Linked DNA regions of Homo sapiens: all the other regions are linked to region 1. The links are contacts of gene promoters, found by promoter capture Hi-C in blood cells and fetal thymus (Javierre and others, 2016). All regions are on one chromosome and are shown on one strand. The core of a region is centred on a gene start or on the middle of the fragment in contact, and the rest is flanking DNA. Distances in the headings are between cores, read along the strand shown. Region 1 holds the start of PTPN18 (protein tyrosine phosphatase non-receptor type 18). Region 2 has its middle 3.0 kb from the start of MYO7B. Region 3 has its middle 48 kb from the start of MIR4783. Region 4 overlaps LOC107985944 (a long non-coding RNA gene). Region 5 holds the start of SFT2D3 (SFT2 domain containing 3). Region 6 holds the start of MAP3K2 (mitogen-activated protein kinase kinase kinase 2). Region 7 overlaps AMMECR1L (AMMECR1 like).

Region 1 (3,057 bases), core at 219-2,718:
ACTGGCTTCCAATGAATTCCCTATCACCACCATCCTAAACAATTACCTCCCTGAGAATGCTCAAAGATGAAACTGATAAATGATGAACATGAATCTCACAGTGACCCCTGCGGACCCCACGATAAATCAAACAGCCCTAGCTGCTGATCCCCACAGAGCCACTTTGATCGCTCCATCACTTCAGCCAAGGTCAGCAAACGACAGCCTGTAGGCCACACACACACACTAGAATAATTCATGACACATGAACATTACATGAAATTCTGATTTCTTTGTCCATAAATGGTTTCTTTGGGACACAGCCACACTATATTGTCTGCTTTCATGCTGCCACAGCTGAGTTAAGCAGCTGGGGCAGCGATAGCAAAGCCAAAACCACTTCCTACCGGGACCTTTAAGAAAGTGTGCCCTTAAATACTCTGATAGCCCCTAGTGAATTAAATTGACCACCTGACATCATGCCCCTGTTGACCCTTCAGAGACTCAGGCACACATCCAGGCCCCAATGCTACCTTTCAACCCCTCAACGACCTCAAACTGGTGTCCACTGACGCCCCTTCCAGTGACACCCCTCTTAATTCTTCCGACCTCGGCGAGAAGGGGGCTAACCTAGGCCTGTCCTTGAAGAGACCCAGGTGCCAGTCCATTCTCTCCAGCCTCCCCTCGGTGATCCCGGAAGCTGGAACGGCGGCTCTCCTCTGACCTCTGCACACTTTCTGAAGATGGGAGTGTCAGGGCAGGCAAAAAAGAGAAGCTCTTCGTTCCCCAGAACCCACTTCCAGTGCCTCAGTTCTGTTTCCCAGCAGGCTTGTGCAGGTCGAGATGCTCACACAGGACTGACCCTGGTGCCCCAGCGCATCCGGGAAAAAGGAACCACAAATTCCTCGGGAAATACACAGAGAAGATCCCGCTGCCACTTGGCCTTTCCCACGGCGTGGCTGCCCCTCCCCGGCCTCCCTTGGGCCCGGCTGGAGCGCACAGCGCGGGACGCCCCCGACCCGGGGTCCTCTGGCACGAGGGGCAGCCTGATCTCGGCGACCGTCTCCACCCAAGGCTGCTGCCCGCCCCAGCTCGGACTCCGCGCGGCCTGGCTCCCAGGGGACGGGCGGGAGGGCCCGGCGAGACCGCTCGGCCGTCCACCCAGAGCCGGCACCCGGAGGTCGGCCCCTGGGCGCGGATCCCGATCTGAGGGCGGGTCCCAAGCGGCAGGGAGCGAACCTGGGACCGTGCCACCCCCCCACCAGTGGGCGCGGCAGCCGAAAAAAAGGGGAAGCGCCGGCGCTGGACTCTGCTCAGGGCAGCCCGCGAGGACCTAGGGCTCCGGCCACAGCGGCCCGAGCGCCCGGGGTGGGGCTACGCGGGCTCAGAACACGGTGGCTGGGGCGCCCTGCCCGCCGCTGCGCGCTTCCATTGGCTGCCGAGGCAAGGGCGGGGACTCAGTCACCGGCCTCCGCCTCCCGCGGCGTCCACACTCGCCGCGCGCGCGGCGGCCGGGCTGGACCTTGCTGGCCCGCGGCGCCATGAGCCGCAGCCTGGACTCGGCGCGGAGCTTCCTGGAGCGGCTGGAAGCGCGGGGCGGCCGGGAGGGGGCAGTCCTCGCCGGCGAGTTCAGCGTGAGTGGCACACGGGGTCCGCGAGCGGCGCGCCCCGGCCCTGGCCCTGCGTACGCCTGTCCTCCGCGCACGGCGGGCTCTGCCTTTCTGTCTCGGTGTCCCCGGTGTCTCCCCGCCTCGGGGGGTCTCTCCGTGTTTCTCTCCCCAGCACTTCTCTGTCGCTCTTGCTGTCTCCGTCTTCACTCTCTGCCCCCCGGCCCCGGAGCGCGACGTCCACGGCCAGGCCGGGACGGACCGTGCACACCCTCGTTCCCGGTGTCCTCGTCGCGCTCCCGGAACAACCTGGCTGCGGGCGGGACAGGTGGGGCGGGCGCCGCAGGGGAGGGCGGGCGGCCCTGCTGCGCTGGACAGCCCCGGCCCCGCCGCTTCTGGCGACCTGACTGTCCCCTGTGACCACAGGAAGGAAGGGGCTGCAGCAGGGCGAAGAGGAACACGGAGGCTGTGGCGTGGTGAGGGTGTGAACGCCGGGCTCGAATCCGCGTCCGGGCCCGAATCCGCTTCCCGTCCCGAATCCGCGTCCCGGCCATCCGCGTGTGGTCCAGGCGGTCTACCTGGCCCCTCTGACCTCGGCTTCTCCCTTGGTGAAATGGGGACATGAATGACCAAACTGGTCTAAGGATTAAATGATGTGGGTGAAAAGCACTTAGTACATATTGGGCGCACACTTCGTAGGGGCGTTCGTCACTGCCTATAAAGATTCTAAACGTGGGCCAGGTGCGGTGGCTCACACCTGTAATCCCAGCACTTTGGGAGGCCGAGGTGGGAGGATCGCTTGAGCTCAGGAGTTCGAGACCAGCCTGGGCAACACAGCGAAACCCCGTCTCTACTAAAAATACAAAAATCAACTGGGCATGGGCGCATGCCTGTAATCCCAGCTACTAGGGAGCAGAGACAGGGGACTCGCTTGAACCTGGGAGGCAGAGGTTGCAGTGAGCTGAGATGGTTCCACTGCACAGCTGAGATGGTGCCACTGCACTCCAGCCTGGGCCACAGAGTGAGATCCCATCTCAAACAAAACAAAACCAAACAAAAAATCTAAACGTTACAATACAGGTAGTGCAAGCCCAGCATTAGGAAGGCTCACGCAGAATGCTAGGCACTGTACATTACAGTTGATGACGTGTTTAAAGTGTAATCGCTTATGTACCAGACATAGAAACATACCATACAAACGCATAAACTGATATATGGTGACATGTATCAAGTTTAGAAATATGACAAATATATAAAAGTATTATAAATGACCGTTTATACAATAAACATTGCATAACTGCATAAAACAATACAACAAATGAATATAACAAAGATTATAATTTATAAAATGACCAAAGTTATTTGATAAATTCATAAGTAGATATAAAATATGTAACAGATGGCCGGGCACGGTGGCTCACGCCTATAATCCCAGCACTTTGGGAGGCCGAGGCGGGCGGATCACGAGGTC
Region 2 (3,175 bases), core at 119-2,618, 2.8 Mb before region 1:
GAGGTGACCTTTTCATTTTGTGCCCCTACTTTCCCCCTCTTGCTGCCTTGGACAAATCTCTGGGTAGTTTCCTCAGAGGGCTTATGGTGACAAAAGCACCACCAGAAATGAGTCCTTTCCTCCTGGGCTGAGACTGTGGATGCCTAGCTGGCCCATCAGGACTTTGGATCCAAGACCTTCCCAGTCTAGGAGCAGCTATCTTGAAGCTGCTGTTCCCGGAGGATGAAGTACTTGAGTTTGCCTGATGACACAGTCATCTCCTTGGCATGTCAGAACCAAGATCCTCCAGGAAGCACTCATCTTCCATGCACCCTCCCTCTGAGCCATATCTTCCTGCCATTGAAGGAGCCCAAGGGTCAGGGTCACCTCTTCCGGGAGGACATTCGTTCTGGTCTTTGTTGGCCTCCTCTTTCTCCCAGCCTCCAATGGCACCTGGGCCTGTGAACTATATATTGGTTCCCAACTGGGACTTTGTCCCCCAGAGACATTTGGCAATAATATCTGAAGACATTTTGATTTGTCACCACTAGGGGTGGGGACATAACCAATGGCTGCTGCTAAATGTTCTGCAGTACACAGGACAACGCCTCTCATTCCCCAACAAAGAACAATCTACTCCAAAACGCTAATAATGCCAAGACTGAGAAACCCTGAACTACAGGACAGAATGTGCCCTGTGATCTACTGTCTTGTACTGTGCACAACTGTGTTTCCAGGGAAGCATTTAAGCGTTGCTTCTCTTCCCAGATATTCCCTTGCCCCAGCATCTCAGAAACCAAGGCAACAAAATGGGCAAGGCCTTTCAAACCCTGGGCTAGGGCCAGCAAGTTGGGGAAACACCTTTTTTTTTTTTAAATCTCTGAAGATAGGATGTCTCATGCATCACTGGGGTGAGGAAGGAGGAGGTCTGGTTTGTCTGAGGGTTGGCGTGGTATAATACATCCCAATAAGCCCAGGCCATGGGGTCAGGTACACCCTAATTCAAACCGCACCTCTGCCACTTTTGGTTGTGTGGCCTAAGCAAGTTTCATAACCTCTTTGACTTTAACTTCCTTGCTATGAAATGAGGAGAAGCACCCCTCATTTGTTGAGGTTTGATGAGGGTTGAGTGAGATGGTACAAGCAAAGAGCCCAGCACAGAGAAAATCCTTATCACATGCCAGCTCTTTCTGAGACTGAGAATTCAAAAATGTTCTAAAGAGTAGTTCAGTCGCAGAGGTCTGTGCTGCCAACCTTGCTGTTTCATAGGGTTAATGGATAATTTGGCTGCTGTAGCCTAGATGGGAATATTAGGGCCACCATAAGCAAGTGACTTCAGTTAGCTCTATGATATGCTGGTAGAGCTGAAGCGAAAGGCTTGCTCTGTGTCAGTCGCTGTGATGACGCTATAATGGGCTTGGTCACTGACAGGAATGGAATGAACCATAGGTTGTCCATGGGCGCATTTCAGCTCAGCTCACAAACATGTTTTTCAAGGTTAGCTGAATATTTGCGTCTTGGGAAATGAGCACTACGCTAATTGTGGAAGTAGCACTGGGCTGGGAGACAGCCAAGCCTGGTCGCCCGTGTTACCAGGAAGAGCCTGCCCTGCCTTTCCCCAACCCATCTTCTTGATTTCCAGGGCTTGGGGTCCCTTGGCTATGGAAAGCCTGAGGCTCCAGGAGAACCATGCCTCAGGGTGTCCCCCTTTGCACCAACTCACACAGCAATCAGACCAGGTCCTTGCAATCATAGGCGCAGTTTTGACTGGGAGGGAGGACTTGGCATGCCACTTGAGAAATATTAGCAACCAAAAATTCATGCCCACTGTTCTTCCATAGTGGAAGATCTTCTTCCAGAGATCCCACTGGAATCTTCCATAATGACAAAATGCAAACAACGCTGAGAGCACAGATATGTTCATTGCAGTATTGTGTGTGACAGCAAAGGATTGGGTACCTCCCAGGGTCCATCCAGGGAGGATGGGTATACAAATGATGGGGCACTTGTGTGACATACTGTCACGCTGTTTCTAAAGACCAATGGTAAAAGTTTGGTACAGTGTCAGAAAGTTCTTGTGATATAATGTGTAACATAAAATAGAGAGAGACAGAGAATAGCAGGTCAGTATCTAAAATGTGTTTCTGTCAAATTTTGCATAAGGTGAGAACTGGATGGGAACATCTTACAGATTGTTTTGGTCCACACAGATTTTCTGTCCCAATATTTTCTTACATGAGGGCAGTAGAAAAGGTCCGAAGAGGACTCAGTCTCAGCCCCAGAGCAAGGGGTTCACCATCTCTGGGAGCTGCCAGGAGCAGCAGCGTCAGCCCTAGAGGAGCTAAATGGTATCTTTCTAAACCCGAGAAACCATGTGCAGCATGAAGCTCAAAAAGGCTGAGTGTGGACCCAGAAACCGAACCAAATTTTAGGGAGCAGGAGGCTAGTCAGAGCAAGGGCAGAACTTGGGGGGCTGTTCTAGGGGGAACAGGCGGGACAGGGGGCCGCCTGAAAGACTCGGAACATGCAGCTCCCTCCAAGTGGTCCTTCAAGGGATCTCCCAGCTTGGTTCCCTGTCTTTGGGATGGGCCATTTGGTTTTAAGATACAGAAACTCCTTCAAGCCATGTCAACAAAGAGAACATTTAATAGACGGAAACTGGGGACTCCATGGAGCCCACCCACAGGAGGCACAGGAAACCCTGAGGCATCGGGGGTCTCCTCCTGTCTCTGGAGCCACTGGGTCTCCACCTCTGCAGCTTGTCCACCTCTCCTTTTCTCTCCCACCACCGCTTGGTCTGTGTCCCCACGAAAGGTCCATGTTCAGGGTTGCCACCCTGCCTTGACCTCAGTTCTAAAAGACGATGGCTCATTCCCACATTTCTGCCTGCAGTTCCCAAGTCCCTCCAAGTCCAAGGAAAAGAAAGGAATCTGATTGGCTCTAGTTGGGCCAACTGTAAGGATGACCAGACCCCTTTTTTACCCAACACAAGGCCTGTGGCTGACCAGGTAACTACCTGCCCCTATTATCCACCCGCCTTCAAAGCCTTGCATAAATGAGCTCCCCTCGCCCTCCTGCTCACTTCCAGGGACTGCCTGGCCCCTCCAGTCTGACCCCACCCAGGGCCCACTGCGGTTGCACTTCCCTTCTAAACAGTCTGTATTTGCCTTAAGCCCAAATCCCCCTTGATCAAGTG
Region 3 (3,262 bases), core at 593-3,092, 2.9 Mb before region 1:
CTCACCAGCCCCTAGGTCATCCAGAGGATTTATCATTATTCTGAGACTCCACAGGGCCTTGCCTGTGGATCCAGAAAGCTACCACTGTGCCTCAATACAAGACACTACTCTTGGCAGGTGAGAACATTCCGTCTGGGTTTGGATGAGAAGGGCCGTTCCACAGCAACATTTTTTGAACTCCAGTGTTACAGTGTCTATGGACACAGCTTTTAGTTCACACCTAGAGCCCTTCTCTCCCCAGGGAGCAAACTTACCTTCAAGTTGGCTGGTTTGGGACATACCTGGACAGCAGCTTGCCTCCAACCTTCTATCTTCTTGGGAAGCTGGGCTTGCTATCAGACTGGTCCTTTTCTTATGGTAGATTTTCTCTTGAGGCTCCCATTAGTCTCTGCAAGTGGGCCTCCGCCTGGGCCACTCCAGCACATTAGACCTGTCAGTAGTCAAAGCCAAGAGTGCACAAAGTTCCCAACTTTTTCCCAGGATCCCCAGGCCCAACAAAAATCAATGAATGTGATGCCTGAGGAGGATTATTGCCTAACTACGTACCAGTACTGTTGAATCCCATCTCCTACTCAGCTGGGACCCACTGAAGTTCTTCCTCAGGATATTAGCTTTATCAACATCCCAAGGTTTTCCATTTCTTATTCAAGGTGTGACTACACTGAGCAGTAACAGCAAAACCTGAAAGAGAATGGATACAGGTGTTCATTTCAGATGGTACAAGTTTAACAAAGTACAAGAGCAACTTAAGGTTTGACACAAAAACTCTAAGCATATATTTAAATCCTAGTATTTCATCCAGAAAACACCACAGCATAACTGAGAGCACTGGAGGCAGAAATAATTCAGTTTAGATCCATGGATTGCTTGCTATTTACTGTGTGACTCTGGGTAGCCACTTACTTTAAATCTATTTTTCCCACTTATAGAAAGGTAATGATGACCACTTGTTGGAAAACTTGAGGGTAATACTTGTAAAGGTCATAGTAAGACCCAACAACTTGGGCCCAACACCTGGTAGGCACAAAGTCTGTTCTGCTTCCTTTCCCTTTCTGTAGAGAAATGCACAGGATATTCCTTATATGCCACTTATGTTATGGGATTGACATAGGTTTTGTCCCTCATGCTATGGGATTGATTAGGTTTTGCTCTAAAAAGCTTTAAAAAAGAAAATTCATTACTATAAGATCAACTCGATTCCAACTTAATCTTATAGTAACTCTAAGGTATGATTATGCTGCAATTCTAGTGTATTTGATTTTTATTTCATATTGAATATCATTATATTCTCAATAAACCCTTAACAGGCTTTAACTGTCTCATAGCTTTCTCTCTGATTTCCTCGATAAAAACAAAATAGCAATAATTAAGAAAGATCAGAAAATAAAAGCCAAGGAATGAAAAGTCTGAATAAAAGCTATTGCATACTCTACATAGAAAAGATCTAGCTGATATGGTGATCAGGAAGGCACACAGGATCTGGAATCAGGAGACCTGAGCTTGAATTGACTCAGCCACTCTGTAGATGGGAGGCATCTTGGTCTCTATGGGACATTTTCCTCATCTAAGATGCAAATATCATCTCACAGAATTATAATCGGTGTCAAATGACAAGTGCTATATGTTAGTTCAGTTCAACAAGCCAAATAGAGACAATCAGACAGACCTGGTCCCTGCCCCAGGGAGCTCACAGTCTCTTTGACCTGGGCCCTACTTTTTCCCTGATCTGGTTTTTAGTAGAGGCCAGCTTGGAATTGCTGCTCATGACTACATTGATTGACTTCCAGGAGAGCCTTCGAAACACCAGTGCTCACTGACCTAACCTTCTCTGCTGGTCTTACATAGAACTGGTCTGGGGAACTCACTCAATTTCCATGCTATCTCTAGCCAAAATACTTAACTTCTTGCACAAAAATCATAAAATAAAGAATTACAAATAAATCACTCCCCCTGCAAACTCAAAGATCAGGCTCATCCCCTCTCCTGACTGTGTGGCAATATCATCCTTTGCCCAAAAGAGATCCTCTCATACTGGAGACCAAACTCCAGGTCACTTTATTGCCAGTCCTGTGTGTTTACATGCCATCATAATAAAATTTACAAAGTGTTTTCCCTAAAGCCTCGCCCACTGCTACCCAGGTCAAGTAGAACCAAAGGATATCTAGCTGTCTGTCCTTGGGACTGACACACCCTGAATCTCTCCTCTCGCATTTTTAAGCAGTTATGACACAGAAAGAACCTTTGGGCCCAGGACCCTGGGTTTTGTAAGAACCAGTCTTTGGGAGAACAGACCTAAACCCTCTTCTTCTAAAGTGAGTGGTGTTTTTACTAGTTGCTTCTTCAAACTTTGTAATTCGAGTCCTTCTTTAAAGTAACAAAAATGTTTTTAAAGTCTTCTGCTGAATCTCTTACCAAACAATAACCTTCAAGTTTTGGTGAAACCATTACTTTTATATGTTGAGCTTGCTTAAAACAAGGCACGCAAGTAATCCTGTGACATACTCCATTTTCTTCAAAAACTGATGAACAAGCTTTGCGCAGTGGCAGTATCATAGCCAATGAGGTTTACTCAAGGAGTGATTATTGCTAATTGAAAAACTGATGAACATATGAAGTGCATGTCTGTAGCTTAATAGTACAAAGTCAGCCAACTTGAGACCTTGGCTCAGGTATTTTTGCAACATTTCTAGCCCATGACTACACTGGGTAATCCTACCCCTTTGGACTTACCAAACATCTCTGTAATCCTTTAATGTACAAGTAATAGACATCTACATCACTCCAAACAACACTCTACCTGCTCCAGGGGGAGTCTTACGTCAGAGGACTTCTGCTGCTGCAATAGGGGAAGATCACAGAAAGAGACAGTATGGAGTTTGATTCAATAATTTCTGCCTGTCTGAGAGGAACAGTACACAGGCAGGTGGGGAAGACTTGGTTTATAAACAGTGGTTACCAATGCCTTCCAAAAAACTGTACAGTACTTTACTAGTAGTCTCTCTCTACCCCTGCCAGGACAATCTAAGCAGAAACTCTGCAGTTAGAAGGCAATAGAATGATATATTTAAAGTGATGAAAGAAAAACCTGTCAACCAAGATTTCTTTCTTTTTTTTGAGACAGGGTCTCACTCTGTCACCCAGGCTAGAGTGCAGTGGTGTGATTTCAGCCCACTGCAGTACTACACTACCTCCTGTAGTCAAGGGATCCTCCCACCTCAGCCTCCTGAGCAGCTGGGACTACATGCATGAGCCATCACATTCA
Region 4 (3,083 bases), core at 38-2,537, 2.5 Mb before region 1:
TCTGTAACCAAGCATTTTATATTGCTTTTTTATTGAGAGAGGACATACATGTTTAGAATTCACACAGCTCAAGTATACAGCTTGACCAATTCTTACATTAGTGTCCATCCATGTAACCATCATCCAATTTAAGATGTGGAATATTTCTAGCAGCTCAGAAGGTTCTCTTGTGCCTTCTCCCCGTTCCTAATCCCCTCCAAAAGATACCCATTATTTTGACTTCTATCACTGTGGGATAGTTTTGCCTGCTCTTGAATTCACGGACATTCAAATCGACTCATCCAGTACATACTCCTTTGGGTCTGGTCTGTTTCGTTCAACATTATGTCCAGGAAATTCATCCCTTTGCTTATGTGCAACTATAGTTCATTCTTTTTCTTTGATGCACAGAATACTATGCCATTCAATACACATTGAACAATATGCCACAATTTGTTTGTCCGGCATTATTTTTAAAGCAATCTTGTTCTCTTCCCTGAATCTAGAGATTTAAGCTTTTTACAAGATCTCCTGTTGTTTTACAACCTCAGTGAGGGGATTGAGATGGAAGGTAGGAAAAATATGGTTCCTTCATGCACACTAAATGTAGCTCACTCTCAGATTTTCATGATTAAAGATGTTGGGCCAAGGCTGGGCGCGGTGGCTCACGCCTGTAATCCTAGCACTTTGGGAGGTCGAGACGGGTATATCACCTGAGGTCAGGAGTCAAGACCAGCCTGGCCAACATGGCAAAATGCCATCTCTACTAAAAATACAAAAATTAGCCAGGCATGGTGGCCCATGCCTGTAATCCCAGCTGCTTGGGAGGCTGAGGCAAGAGAATCGCTTGAACCCAGGGGGCCAAGGTTGCGGTGAGCCAAGATTGCGCCCCTTCACTCCAGCCTGGGCGAGAGAGCGAAATTCCGTCTCAAAAAAAAAAAAAAAAAGATGTTGAGCCTAGCATGGTGGCTCATGCCTGTAATCCCAGCACTTTGGGAGGTTGAGGCGGGAGGATTGCTTGAGGCCAGGAGCTTGAGACTAGCCTGGACAACATAGTGAGACACTGTCTCTATAAAAATAAGTAAATAAATAAAGATACTTGTATCTACCAGGGTCCAGTCTACAAGGAGTTATTTCAGAGATAGCAATGCACTTTGTCTAGCCTCAGGGCTATGCTACATACCCTTCTGTCCACCATAATCTTACCTGCAGAGACTTTAAGCCTCCTGACATCCCACAGAATATCACATTGATTCATTACATTGGTGCCATGTTGTTGAATGGACCCAATGAGCAGGAAGTGGTAAGTACCTTAGATTCATCTGAAAATCGTATGTGTTCCAGAAGGTTTTAAATAAACTCTAATTCTGATTCCAAGTACTGTATCAGTTAGGGTTCAGGAAAGAAAAACCACACCAGGCATTGCAAACAAAAGGAGATTTTTGGTCACATGGTTAGAAGGCTAAAAGAATGAAGCAGATGTTGAGGTAACCCAAAAATGAGCAACTGTAGGAAGGAGCTAGCACCCTTAGGGCTGAGAGAACAAAAAGGAAGAATTAGCATTACTAGCACCCGGGAGCTTGGGAGGACAGGTCACCATGGGGCTGCTGCTGAGAACTCTTAAGGGGTGCCCTTGGGCCGGTGTCAAAGAGCCTGAGAAGTGGGGAGCTGGAACTTCCTGCACTTGCTGGAGGGGTGCCATCGTTGCTGAAATCAGGAGGAGATGTCTTTTTTTTTTCTCCTTCTACCGTCTGGTCTTTCCCCAGCACCTCCCACTGGCGGAATCTAAAAGGAACTCAAGTGGTGAGAGTATCTGGGAAATGTAGTTGTAGACTCCTGCAACACATGTTGCAAGGACTCTCAATATAGTGAGTTTTAAGTTCAGAGAAGGAAACAAATGAGAACAAAAGACTGTTTTATTCTCCCTCACTTTTTTGGTAGGAGGCCTTGATGTGCAGACGCGATGGGGCAACGATGAGACCGAATAAACAATTGACATCTAACCCCAGAAGAAGAGCAAGGACCTGGGACCCAGAAGGAAGAGGCTGTGAGAGGTACAAACTGCAGGCATGGACATGATGCATATAGAGGACAGCCACACTAAGCTTTGAGGCTTCTGGAGGCAACACAGAGTAACCATTTGAATGGAAATCACTGAACAGACACAGAGAAAGAGAAACCATCCAATGACTTGAGGGTGACACCAAGTTTGCCTGGTGGCCTCAGGACTCCTGGCTCACTGGTCCCACTGTCTCCCCCCGCCCATCAGAATACATGAAGGCTGGTGGGGCACGGTGGCCCATGTCTGTAATCCCAACACTTTGGGAGGCCAAGGCGGGCAGATCACCTGAGTTCGAGACCAGCCTGGCCAACATGGTGAAACCTCGGCTCTACTAAAAATACAAAATTAGCTGAGTGTGGTGGCACATGCCTGTAATCCCAGCTACTCGGGAGGCTGAGGCAGGAGAATCACTTGAACCCAGGAGGCTGAGGTTGCAGTGAGCTGGGATCATGCCACTGCACTCCAGCCTGGCGACAGAGTGAGACTCCATCTCCAAAAAAAAAAAAAAAAAAAATACGTGAAGGCTTTCCTACCACACCATGCATGTGGGACACGTCAGAGTGGGAAGCTCCATGGATCTACAGCAAGGCTGTTCGACTAAGAGTGAATAAATGGGTGAATTCCATGGGCTGAACATGTCAGGAATATTTTCTTCTTAGGGCAGCGATCTTAACTTCTGGAGAAATTGAGTTCCTAAGCTGTAGAGCCTTAGAACCCTGGCATACATTTCTGTGGAGAAACAGAAAGCCCAGACATCCCAGTCCACACACGTCTTTCTTCTGACCAACACCAGCCATAGGAAGCAAGGCCCGGGAGAGCACTGGGGACAGGGCATGTCCGCCCGGAGCAGGGCAGGAGAGCACAGGCATGTGATGCAGCCCTGGGTCTGTCGTCCCGTTTGCGCCGGGAATGAATCGGGTTTTTCTAGCCTCTAAGCACAGAGGTATTTTTGACTCAGCACCGTGAAGAGACGACAATAGCTCAGCTTCTGCCAGCTGCCCGATTTAGACACGAGACCTTCACTACATATTTCTGTCTCTTG
Region 5 (3,408 bases), core at 117-2,616, 2.7 Mb before region 1:
TATATATATTTTTTTTTTATAGTAACTTCCATACTGTTTTCCACAGCGGATATAGCATTTTACATTCCCACCAACGGTGCACAAGGCTTCTAGTTTCTCCACATCCTTGACAGCACTTGTAACTTTCTGGTGTGTTTTTGTTTTTTTGTTTTGATTGTAGCCATCCTAATGGTTTAGCCCATGCTAAGTGATCAGGCTGGTCACTATTATTATCAAGTGAGATAACAAATCAGAATATATTTTGAAAAAGAATTGCATCTGCCAGGATCCAACCAAGAAAACAGAAAGCATTAAAAGGAACTTAATGGGGGAGATTAGTTACACACAGGGGATGGAAAGGCTGAGAAGCCAAACAGCAGGAAGCCGTTAACCTTACATCCACCTAGGGCAGAGGACAAAGGACACAGGGCCACCCAGGGGAAGCCAAGGTGGTGAGGGGAGCTGTGGAGGCAGCTGGAAGAATCTGGAGGAATCTGACCTGTGAGAGGAACCACAAGCAAACACCCTCTAGGAGGCTCTGAGAAACAGCAGGGCACGTGGGTGCGGCCTGGGAACAGATCAGGATTGACCTGCGTGCGAGCCAGCTTGTCACAGTGATGTGACGATGAGTCAGGACACCTGGGCGTGGCGCTGTCCAGAGCACGAGAGTGACACCAAACACATGGGACAGCAGCACCGAGTCTTGGACAAGGGGCGCGAAGGAGTCAAGGATGTTGCCAGGCCTGTGGCCGAAACTGAGAACAGAATAGAGAAGCAGGTTGAGGGTGCTGGGTGTCAACCCTTCCTTTATCAACCCCATGGTAAATGATCAGGATGGTCACTATTACTACAAGTGAGGTAACTAATCAGAACGCAACTTTCCCCAAAAAACCCACCTGAGTTACACAGGTCTGAACTTTTTTAAAAATTAAATTTTTATTTTGAGATCACTGTTTGTGTTCAGTTGTAAGAAACAAGAGAGATTCTGTGTACCCTTTACCCATTCCTCCATGTTGCAAAACTAGCACAATATCACCGCCACGGTAGACGCAGTGAGGCCATAAGACATTTCCGTCAGCAAAAGGGTCACTTCTTGTGCCCCTTTAGAACCACACCCACCCCTGCCTTCCAACTATTAATGCTGGCAGGACTTAGCCAGACCGCAAGGGCGCCTACTCCGAACAAGGAAGAGGGTCAGGCGCTGGGAGGGCGACTGCAAGCGGACAGGCAGCACCTGCGACCACGGTACTTGGGGACACCACAAAAGTCCGCAGAGCAGGCACCGCGGCACTTCCGCGAGCGCCGCAGGCCCTGCCCCTTTCGCCGTCGCCGACCAATTGCCGCCCGAAGACCGAACCGCTTCAGCGGAGGGCCGGAAGTGAGCCGCAGCTTTTCCTTTCTGCCACCGCCTTGTCCAAGATGGCGGACCTCCACCGCCAGCTGCAGGAGTACCTGGCGCAGGGGAAAGCTGGCGGCCCGGCGGCCGCGGAGCCGCTGCTCGCCGCGGAGAAGGCGGAGGAGCCCGGGGACCGGCCGGCGGAGGAGTGGCTGGGCCGCGCGGGCTTGCGCTGGACGTGGGCGCGGAGCCCTGCGGAGTCGGCAGCGGCCGGCCTGACGTGCCTCCCGAGCGTGACGCGCGGGCAGCGGCTGGCGGCGGGCGGCGGGTGCCTGCTGCTGGCTGCACTGTGTTTCGGCCTAGCCGCGCTCTACGCACCGGTGTTGCTGCTGCGCGCGCGCAAGTTCGCGCTGCTCTGGTCACTGGGCTCGGCGCTGGCGTTGGCGGGAAGCGCGCTGCTGCGGGGCGGCGCGGCGTGCGGACGCCTGCTGCGCTGCGAAGAAGCGCCGTCCCGGCCCGCGCTGCTCTACATGGCAGCGCTGGGCGCCACGCTGTTCGCCGCGCTGGGCCTTCGCAGCACGCTGCTCACGGTGCTGGGCGCGGGCGCGCAGGTGGCCGCGCTGCTGGCCGCGCTGGTTGGGCTGCTGCCCTGGGGCGGCGGCACCGCGCTGCGCCTCGCACTGGGTCGCCTGGGCCGCGGCGCCGGCCTCGCCAAGGTGCTGCCCGTGTGAGGACCTCGCGCCCTCGCCGCTGGGGAAGTACGCGGAGCCAGCGCCGTCGGAGACCGCGCCGGCCGAGCTGAGGACTGCACGCCGCTGTGCGGAAGCCCGTGGCGAAGGCCCTGCCCTAACAGCCTGCGAGTCTAATCCGGGAGCGGCTGCTGCCAGCGGAGGCGACAGCAGCGTTGGGAGCTCCTCGATGTCAGCTTTTTGTGCTGGACTTGGCACACGCTCTGAAAACTGAGATTTTGTCATTGAACTGGTGACAGGATGTGAGACGGTTATTAGAAGTTGCTTTCGAAGTAACTGTGGTCTTAGGTTCGGCTGAGTAAAGAAAAAGGATTTTTCTTCGAGTTAGCTGCTCTTGTGATTTTTCTCAGGCTGTTTTGTCATTTTAAAATCCAGTGGTAGATGTAGCTTAGCGACGGTAGTTTTTTGTTTTGGCTATACTAAGACTTGGAAATTATTCTCTCCAGTGTCAGCGAATCCAGAAGGGTATCAGATTAAACACCGAATTCAGCCACTGGACTTTTAAAAGTACTTAAGATGGTTTATCTCGGGTTTTTTCTTCAGTTAACAAAATCATAAATATGGTGCCTTATAACATGAAAGGAAAATTAGTTGTGTATTTCACGACGAAAGCGACGGACCAAAAGAAATTTCCTGCCCCAAGAAGCATGGGATCCAGGAAGGGGCGCGTAGATGCTTAACGGTCTCTTCGGAAATCCTGCAAATAGAAAGATAATTCTAGATCCGGAATACCTGTATCTGGTGGAAACCATGGATTTCTACAAGCTCGAATTATTCCTCATTGTATAGCCTGCTTTGTAAACTAGTTTACAATTTGCAGGCTGATCTTAAGATTTTTTTATATCTAATTGCTGCTGCCTTCATTTTAGGTTCAGCAGTTACTTTTAACTACCTTAATTTATTGCCAGAAGGTATGAGCCTAACATTCTGATGAGTCCAGAAAACTACGTTTTGTCAGTAGCAATACACTAGGAAGTAAAATATATTTAGAATTTAAACATTGTGTGCCAGTGGTCCTCGCGCTTGACTGCACATCAGTTACTTGAAGAGCCACACCTCAGATCAATGCAGTCAGAACCTGGGAAGTAGGTCCCAGACATCAGGACCTTTTTAAAGCTCCCCAAGTGATTCTACGTTCCCCAAGTTTGAGGACCACTTTTCTGTGCATTGGCTTGCACAATTTGAAAGTAATGCTTTTCCTGAGCTGGATCCCAGTGTTGCCTTAACAGGGTGTCTGTCGTGCCGCAGTAGAGCACTGCTGCTTCCTCCAACCCCAAAATTTATGTTCCTAAGTAAGTCAGGTCCCTAAGCCCCGTCCCAAGAAGTGACACAAGTGGCCAACAT
Region 6 (3,460 bases), core at 1-2,500, 3.0 Mb before region 1:
TAGGGAAAACTAAACTGTATCTGTCTATGTGTTTAGAATTTATCCCATTAAAGAAACTGCCCAGTTAGTCTCATTTTCTAAACGTATTTATTTTTTGCAAGACGAGAAATACAGTCTTACAAAAAGACATCTGCATATTCGAACCAAGCCTTCCTGGATTACTACCTTCATGACCTTGGACAAATGCCTTAATCTCTCTGAGCCTCAAGTTTTCACCTGCAAAATGGGGCAATTTACCCACCTCATTGAGCTGGGAAGATGAAGAGAGATAATGCATGACAACTGCCGGGCGCAGACTAAGAGCACCCTAAGTGCTACCTAAATATTCCGTAAAGAGAAAAGGGGGAAACAACCTTACATCAAAAGATTACCACACTGTGACAGTGCAAAGACAAGCACTTTTTCGCTTACTGCATGTACCATTTCTGCTTCATCCCAAGACCAGATGCAACCTTTCTTCTAAAATCTCTGCAGGGTACGTGTCTGACAGCTAACACAGCCCAGCAGCCTACTTCGCGCTGACCTGGGCTTTAGGACTGGATGCAGGGGGCCCAAGGTCCGCCCTCCCGCAGCTAGGCAATCACCCAGCGAAATCTCCGCCCCTGGAGCGGCGCTTAGGCCGCCGCCAGCCCCCCTCCCGGCGCCCAGCCCGCGGCCCCCGACACACACGCGCGCACACACACACACACACACACACAAGCGCGCGCGCACGCACACACGCACGTACCGGCTGCTCCGCAGGGACGTAGAGAGCCGCAGGCCCAAGGAGGGGCCGCCCCCGCCGAGCCCGCCCCTCCGCCCCAGCGCGGCCTGTCACCGCGGCCCCAGGTCGGGGGCTGCCGCAGGGCCCCCGGGGACCGGAGGGGCGCGCGAGGAGTCGGGCGCGGGCCTTGGGGCCAGGCCCGTCCCTCTTTCACATGAAGCCCGGGCCGGGCGGGGTGGCGGGCGCGTGAATCCTCGCAGCCGGCCGGGTCCTCCTGGCGCTCCTCGGCACTTCTAGCCGCTGCAACCCCGAGGCCCGCGGGAACTGGGCAGGAAAGGAGGAAGCCGCGGGCCCGCGTCGCTAGAGACCGGAGAAGAGGCGGGAGTGGCGACTCTGCGGACAGGGGCGCCGAGCGTCCTGGTCGTTGTTTTCGTCGCCGCCGCGGGCCGTGCAACCCCCGAACGCTGCGCCCAGCGGCCGCGGCACCCTCGTCAGGCGCCGCCGCTGAGGGCAGGCAGCCCGGCAGCCACTACACACGGACCCGTGACGTCGGGCGTAGCGCGGCGCACGTCACGGCCGCTCGCTCGTGCGCGCGCACCCCTCCGCCCGGCGGTAGCGGAACCCGCCGCGGGCGCGCGCCCGGCCCAGGGGAGTGGGTCGGCGCCTGCGCAGAGGCCCGCCACGCCCACACACAGGCCACCGCCCCCACCGGCCGGACGGCGCGGGGATTCCCAGTCCTGGCTCCGCCCCGGCCTCGGCCCCGCCCCCGCCCCTGCCCCGGGGCAGCCTGTGCTGTTCCGTGTGCGCGGCGCATACGCACCTGGGTTGTCTCGAGCCTGCGGTAGTGGCCAGATCCCAGACATCCGAGTAGATCCCGTGAAAAGGTCTCCCACGTGGGCTGTGGACAGGGCCCAAGGGTAGCAGAGCTAGCAGAGGCAGTGACGGACTGTGTGGCAGGTCATTTGCAAGGAGAAAAGCCGTCTGCCTCTTAATTTGTGGCTCAAGTTTCAGAATTTTTTTCCTGAGGGACTTTAGAAATTACTTCAGGCTTGCCACCTAACCTTAAACCACCCCCTTGGAGACTGGCTAAGTGTTATTTGTGTTTTCTGTTTAGTTCTTATCACCATCGATACTTGGTTATGACTGGTTGTGTACATTGGTTAGCCCAGCAAGTATTACTTCTCCAGCTTAACAGATGTGGAAACTTAAGCCCAGAGACATGAGTTGACACCCCACCCCCAAAGCTAGAGTCTAAAACCCTTTCTTTCGCTCCTCATCTCCCACAGGATAAAATGCAAATTAATCAGACTAGTGGTGAGGCCCTCCGTGGTGTGACTAACCTGCATCCCGACGTTTTCACCCTACTTTGATCCAGAAAGCACCTTTCCGCCCCATCTCTTCTCCTTTCCTTAAATACCCCTTACAACTTCCTGTACCATTCTTCCCTGTTCAGCTTCTTCTTGGTTTCTTCGTACATTCTGGATCCACCCCTTTCATGCATATTCCAGACCACATTTCCACTGGAGCAGTTGAAATGAGAGAGATGGGAATGGGACTCACCCGAACCAGAGGTAAGGAGCTACCCAACTTGGGCTCTGAGGGTCAAGGGAGCTGGCACTTGTGGGGCAGAGACTGAGGGAGAAACTGTTGTGTAATGTCAAAATATCTCTGGGTTTCTTCCAGGAATTTTTATTACAGACCCATTAACAGAGGTGTCAAAGTCACAGGAACAAGGATGTGCACCTCAGAAACACAGAGGTCAGTGGAAAATCAGTTTGCTTCTATTTGTTTAAAAAATGGGGGACTTATGCATAAATCTAAGACCTTCTTGAATCTAACATTCTAAGACCTGTATGCCACAGAAAGGAGGGTCTCAGAACGCCGGAGGATAGTATTTAAATCTTAAATATCTATATTGTTCTCCACAGTTACTGGGTCACCACATAGCAGGCATTCAATAAAAACGTGTTTGTTTACTAAGTAATCTAGAGATAAATTTTTTCCCCTCATAGTGCTGCTCATTTCTCCACTCCCTTCCCTCACTTACCACCCCGGGGACTTCATTCACCTCTGGGTTCCTCAGAAACATCCCGTGGGTATAGTTATAGTAGCTATTCTTTCTTTTTCGCCATTCTCCTTTTATATTGGTGACTTTTCCTCTTGCTTAGATATTAAATCTCTGACATCTTTGGTTATTTTAGTATATATGATTACAAATTAGTGATATTGGGATTTTTTTATTGATGAAACCATCATTCAATGAATATTTTTTTGCCTTCCTACTCTGTGCCTGGGATTGCAGTGATAAAATTATATAGTCCCCACTGCCCAGGAACTCAGAATCCTGTGAGGAAGGCAGACAGGTAAATGGATAATGATAACACACTGTGACCTGCATCATGGGAGGGATGTGTATCAGGCACCACAGCAGCAAGAGGAAGATGTCACAGGTGTGTCTGGGGAAGTGAGAGATGACTTCAGAGAGGAAATGTGGCATGTTCCTTTTCTGTTGCTGCATAACAAACTGCCACAAACTTAGTGACTTAAAACAGTGTCTGTTTTTTAGCTCCCAGTTATACAGATCAGAAGTTTGCACAGGGGCAAGGCTGAGTTCTCTACTCAGGGTATATTGCAAGGCTGAAATCAAGGTATCAGCTGGGCTGACTTTTTATCTAGAGGCCCTTGCAAAGATCTTCCAAGCTCATTCTTCTTTGGGGCACAATTCAGTTTCCTGTGGTTGTAGGATTGACATCCCTA
Region 7 (3,091 bases), core at 327-2,826, 2.5 Mb before region 1:
AAATCAGACTAATTCCAAGAAAGAAGGAAAACTGCACTACGTATCACAGAATGCACAAGCAACATGTAAAGGTACCCTTCTAGATATTCTTTTAAAGACAAAATCTGCTCGATCCACCCTACCTTTAACGTCCCCATCAGAAGAACTTATAGGCTACTGAGTTTTTTTTTTTTTGGAGATGGAGGCTCGCTCTGTCACCAGGCTGGAGTGTAATGGCACGATCTTGGCTCACTGCAACCTCTGCCTCCTGGGTTCAAGTGATTCTCCTGCCTCAGCCTCCTGAGTAGCTGGGTCTACAGGCATGCACCACCATGCCCAGCTAATTTTTATATTTTTAGTAGAGACGGGGTTTCACCATGCTGGCCAGGATGGTCTCAATCTCTTGACCTTGTGATCCGCCCACCTTGGCCTCCCAAAATGCTGGGATTATAGGAGTAAGCCACCACGCCTGGCCGACTACTGAGTTCTTTAAAAAACAGTAGGGACTATGTTTACACCCTTTGCCATGTATAATATTGTTTAATGATTTGTGATCCAAAGTTCGGTACCTACTGAATTCTACAATATGGTCAGGTTGATTGGTGGTATTTTGCTACAATTGCCACTGTAGTTTAAGGGGCTAAGAAATAAAACTATTCATTGAAAAGAAGTGTTTGAAATATCAGGCGAGTAAGTGAACGATTTACCCTTTTGCTTTTCCCAGCTCCTAAACCTTTTTGGAAGTTTACCCTTGGTTCTATAGGAATTTGACAGGTATTAAGAGGCAGAAAGGCCCTCATTCTCAGCTGCAGTTGGGCTGCAAGATGACACACTTCACTTTCTTGCCCTTTAACTGGCACCACTGTGAATGATACTTGTCATTAAAATCCCATTCATCCAACTCACCTTGTTCCTTAGCAACCTCAGGTAAATATGTGGCTGTGCGTTTGACACCTTTTTCATTAATGAATTCAATTCGAATCCCATGGACCCCTACCTATAGAAAAAAGTACAACCAAGTAAATGGCATTTACTTACTCTAATGGAACTTCAGTCCCCACATATAAATCAACATTGTTCCCTGACCAGCTTAACACAGGCCTGGAAAAGGGAGACCTTCTCGCATTTCATGACTAATTCTATCTCAGGAGGTATAGAGGCCAAAGAAAGTTCTGCTTTTAGGGAAGGGTCGAGAGTATGTGCAGCCAACTCTGAGAATATGAAGGTAGGAGAAATGCATTCTTTAAGTAATTCATCCAGGAATTGTGAATATGTTCCTTGACCCTATTCCATTAAATAAACATGCCACAAGGTTTTTATCTGGGGTCATGATCCTTCACATCTGATTCCTAATAAAAACTTTTATTTGGCCAGGCGCGGTGGCTCATGCCTGTAATCCCAACAATTTGGGAGGCCAAGGCCGTCAGGAGTTTGAGACCAGGCTGGCCAACATGGTGAAACCCTGTCTCTACTAAAAAAATACAAATGGCTGGGCATGGTGGCTCACGCCTATAATCCCAGCACTTTGGGAGTCCAAGGCAGGTGGATCACGAGGTCAAGAGATTGAGACCATCCTGGCTAACACGGTGAAACCCCATCTCTACTAAAAATACAAAAATTAGCTGGGTGTGGTGGCACGCGACTGTAGTCCCAGCTACTCAGGAAGCTGAGGCAGAAGAATCACTTGAACCCAGGGGTGGAGGTTGCAGTGAGCTGAGATTGCACCACTGCACTCCAGCCTGGCGACAGAGCGAGACTCTGTCTCAAAAAAAAAAAAAATAGCTGGGCATGGTGGTGGGCACCTGTAATCCCAGCTACTTGGGACACTGAGGCAGGAGAATCCCTTGAACTCGGGAGGCAGAGGTTGCAGTAAGCCGAGATCACGTCACTGCACTCCAGCCTGGGGAACAAGAACGAAATTCCATCTCAAAAAAAAAAACAAGCAAACAAAAACTTTTACTCCAGGGCTTGCCAAGAAGGATCTGGAATATTTTCTTTTACCCCATTATCTCTTATTAGACATGGGAGAAGGATGTAAACCAAGCAGACTAGGGAGAATCAGGAGAAGCGAGCCTTTCCACTGACACTTCTGCCTACTCCTGGTATAGCAGCACCTCTTCTGTCACCTATGTTGCCCACAATTGGTTCCAAACTCAGCCTTCACATTCTTATACCCTTTCTCTCAATGAAGGAGATACATTGCCATGTACTAACCCGAACCCAAATGCAACGAGAGATGCAGAGTTCCAAATGCGGCTGTTCTCACCTCCCAGTCCAGGTAATCACTGGCATCCTCAAAGTTAGTAAGGAGGGAGACAGAGCAGAAAAGTTTAGGCAGCTCCTCTCGGGTCAGGGGGGGAAATCGGCTGTCCTTAAGTGCACTGGAGGGGGACAGAAAACATAGGTAAGGCTGCTCTGGAGTCAGGAGCCAATATCAGGTGCCATAGAGCCCACATATTTATGAATCTTGAGCTATGCAGAGAGTATCTATTGTTCATCAACACTAACATGTTAAAAACAACTCGATGCTATTAACTGTCTGTACTTGAACTGATAACTGACTCACCAGATTAAGCCCCTTACATTTCCTGATTACCAAAAAGAGAAAGCTCAACGTACATCACTTAGAAGAAATAAAGTCAGGCAGCTATTTCTGATTCTAGCCAATTTATCTACAGTTCTTAATGTCTGGTGTCATTACCTGGTTAACGTGTATTCCCTGAGTCCTGAATGAAGATTCATGGCTGAGAAGGTCCCAATGCAGCCACGAAGCCGCTTGTCCCGCCCTGTCTTCCACGTCACAAAGAGCGGACTAAAAAAAGCAAAACACAAAACATTCTCCAGCCCCAAATTAATCATGGATAAGAACAAAACCTTTTGGCTTTGTCCCTATTCATTTCTGTTATTGCCAAAAATCCCTGTTTTTGGACTTGCCAGCTACCCGAAGGACTCTCTGCCTTTCTGAAAACGGCACAGCCCCTGGCTGGAAACGGGAAACCTACAAGGCAGCATAAGGAAAGGCTCCGTGTAGTGGTTCCCATGTTCCATGCTGACAGCTTTAATTCACTTTGCCGCCAAATTTACATGCTACTTTCCTCTTTCTCTGCCCAAG

Evidence for each region. Contacts are between HindIII fragments. The CHiCAGO score rates a contact against its expected background, and 5 or more counts as called.
Region 2: a contact is called between a fragment that was not itself captured here and the fragment with the promoter of PTPN18 in region 1, in 1 of 17 cell types (monocytes). The highest score is 5.5, in monocytes.
Region 3: a fragment that was not itself captured here is called in contact with the fragment with the promoter of PTPN18 in region 1 in 1 of 17 cell types (neutrophils); the score reaches 6.2 in neutrophils.
Region 4: a fragment that was not itself captured here is called in contact with the fragment with the promoter of PTPN18 in region 1 in 3 of 17 cell types (monocytes, neutrophils and total B cells); the score reaches 7.1 in monocytes.
Region 5: a contact is called between the fragment with the promoter of SFT2D3 here and the fragment with the promoter of PTPN18 in region 1, in 1 of 17 cell types (monocytes). The highest score is 9.8, in monocytes.
Region 6: the fragment with the promoter of MAP3K2 here is called in contact with the fragment with the promoter of PTPN18 in region 1 in 1 of 17 cell types (neutrophils); the score reaches 7.6 in neutrophils.
Region 7: a contact is called between a fragment that was not itself captured here and the fragment with the promoter of PTPN18 in region 1, in 2 of 17 cell types (neutrophils and monocytes). The highest score is 12.3, in neutrophils.

Annotation. Positions count from the first base shown.
Region 1 is chr2:130,354,588-130,357,644 of GRCh38, forward strand. PTPN18 (protein tyrosine phosphatase non-receptor type 18) reads left to right here and starts at 1,469. Exons shown (of 15, transcript NM_014369.4): 1 at 1,469-1,613. The coding sequence starts at 1,521. RefSeq lists silencers at 1,049-1,718, 1,859-1,908. The HindIII fragment of the contact is 15,291 bases long and covers 1-3,057 here.
Region 2 is chr2:127,531,058-127,534,232 of GRCh38, forward strand. No RefSeq gene overlaps it. Among named protein-coding and RNA genes, the nearest start is that of MYO7B, 3.0 kb to the right of the region's middle. The HindIII fragment of the contact is 4,708 bases long and covers 1-3,175 here.
Region 3 is chr2:127,469,705-127,472,966 of GRCh38, forward strand. It overlaps the pseudogene RNU4-48P. Among named protein-coding and RNA genes, the nearest start is that of MIR4783, 48 kb to the left of the region's middle. The HindIII fragment of the contact is 1,373 bases long and covers 1,157-2,529 here.
Region 4 is chr2:127,890,296-127,893,378 of GRCh38, forward strand. It overlaps LOC107985944 (a long non-coding RNA gene), which reads left to right. Exons shown (of 2, transcript XR_001739707.2): 2 at 1,921-3,083. Among named protein-coding and RNA genes, the nearest start is that of AMMECR1L, 5.9 kb to the left of the region's middle. The HindIII fragment of the contact is 1,590 bases long and covers 493-2,082 here.
Region 5 is chr2:127,700,131-127,703,538 of GRCh38, forward strand. SFT2D3 (SFT2 domain containing 3) reads left to right here and starts at 1,367. Exons shown (of 1, transcript NM_032740.4): 1 at 1,367-3,408. The coding sequence starts at 1,399. The coding sequence ends at 2,046. WDR33 (WD repeat domain 33) reads right to left here. Exons shown (of 22, transcript NM_018383.5): 22 at 897-3,408. RefSeq lists enhancers at 1-1,088, 83-604, 316-685, 605-1,126 and a silencer at 1,446-2,125. The HindIII fragment of the contact is 7,289 bases long and covers 1-3,408 here.
Region 6 is chr2:127,386,725-127,390,184 of GRCh38, forward strand. It overlaps MAP3K2 (mitogen-activated protein kinase kinase kinase 2), which reads right to left and starts at 1,251. Exons shown (of 17, transcript NM_001371910.2): 1 at 728-1,251. It overlaps MAP3K2-DT (MAP3K2 divergent transcript), which reads left to right and starts at 714. Exons shown (of 4, transcript NR_187129.1): 1 at 714-828; 2 at 2,157-2,274; 3 at 2,387-2,461. RefSeq lists a silencer at 671-1,540. The HindIII fragment of the contact is 12,520 bases long and covers 1-3,460 here.
Region 7 is chr2:127,868,569-127,871,659 of GRCh38, forward strand. It overlaps AMMECR1L (AMMECR1 like), which reads right to left. Exons shown (of 8, transcript NM_001199140.2): 4 at 2,681-2,791; 5 at 2,246-2,360; 6 at 886-976. It also overlaps the pseudogene LOC107985803. Among named protein-coding and RNA genes, the nearest start is that of POLR2D, 12 kb to the left of the region's middle. The HindIII fragment of the contact is 9,720 bases long and covers 1-3,091 here.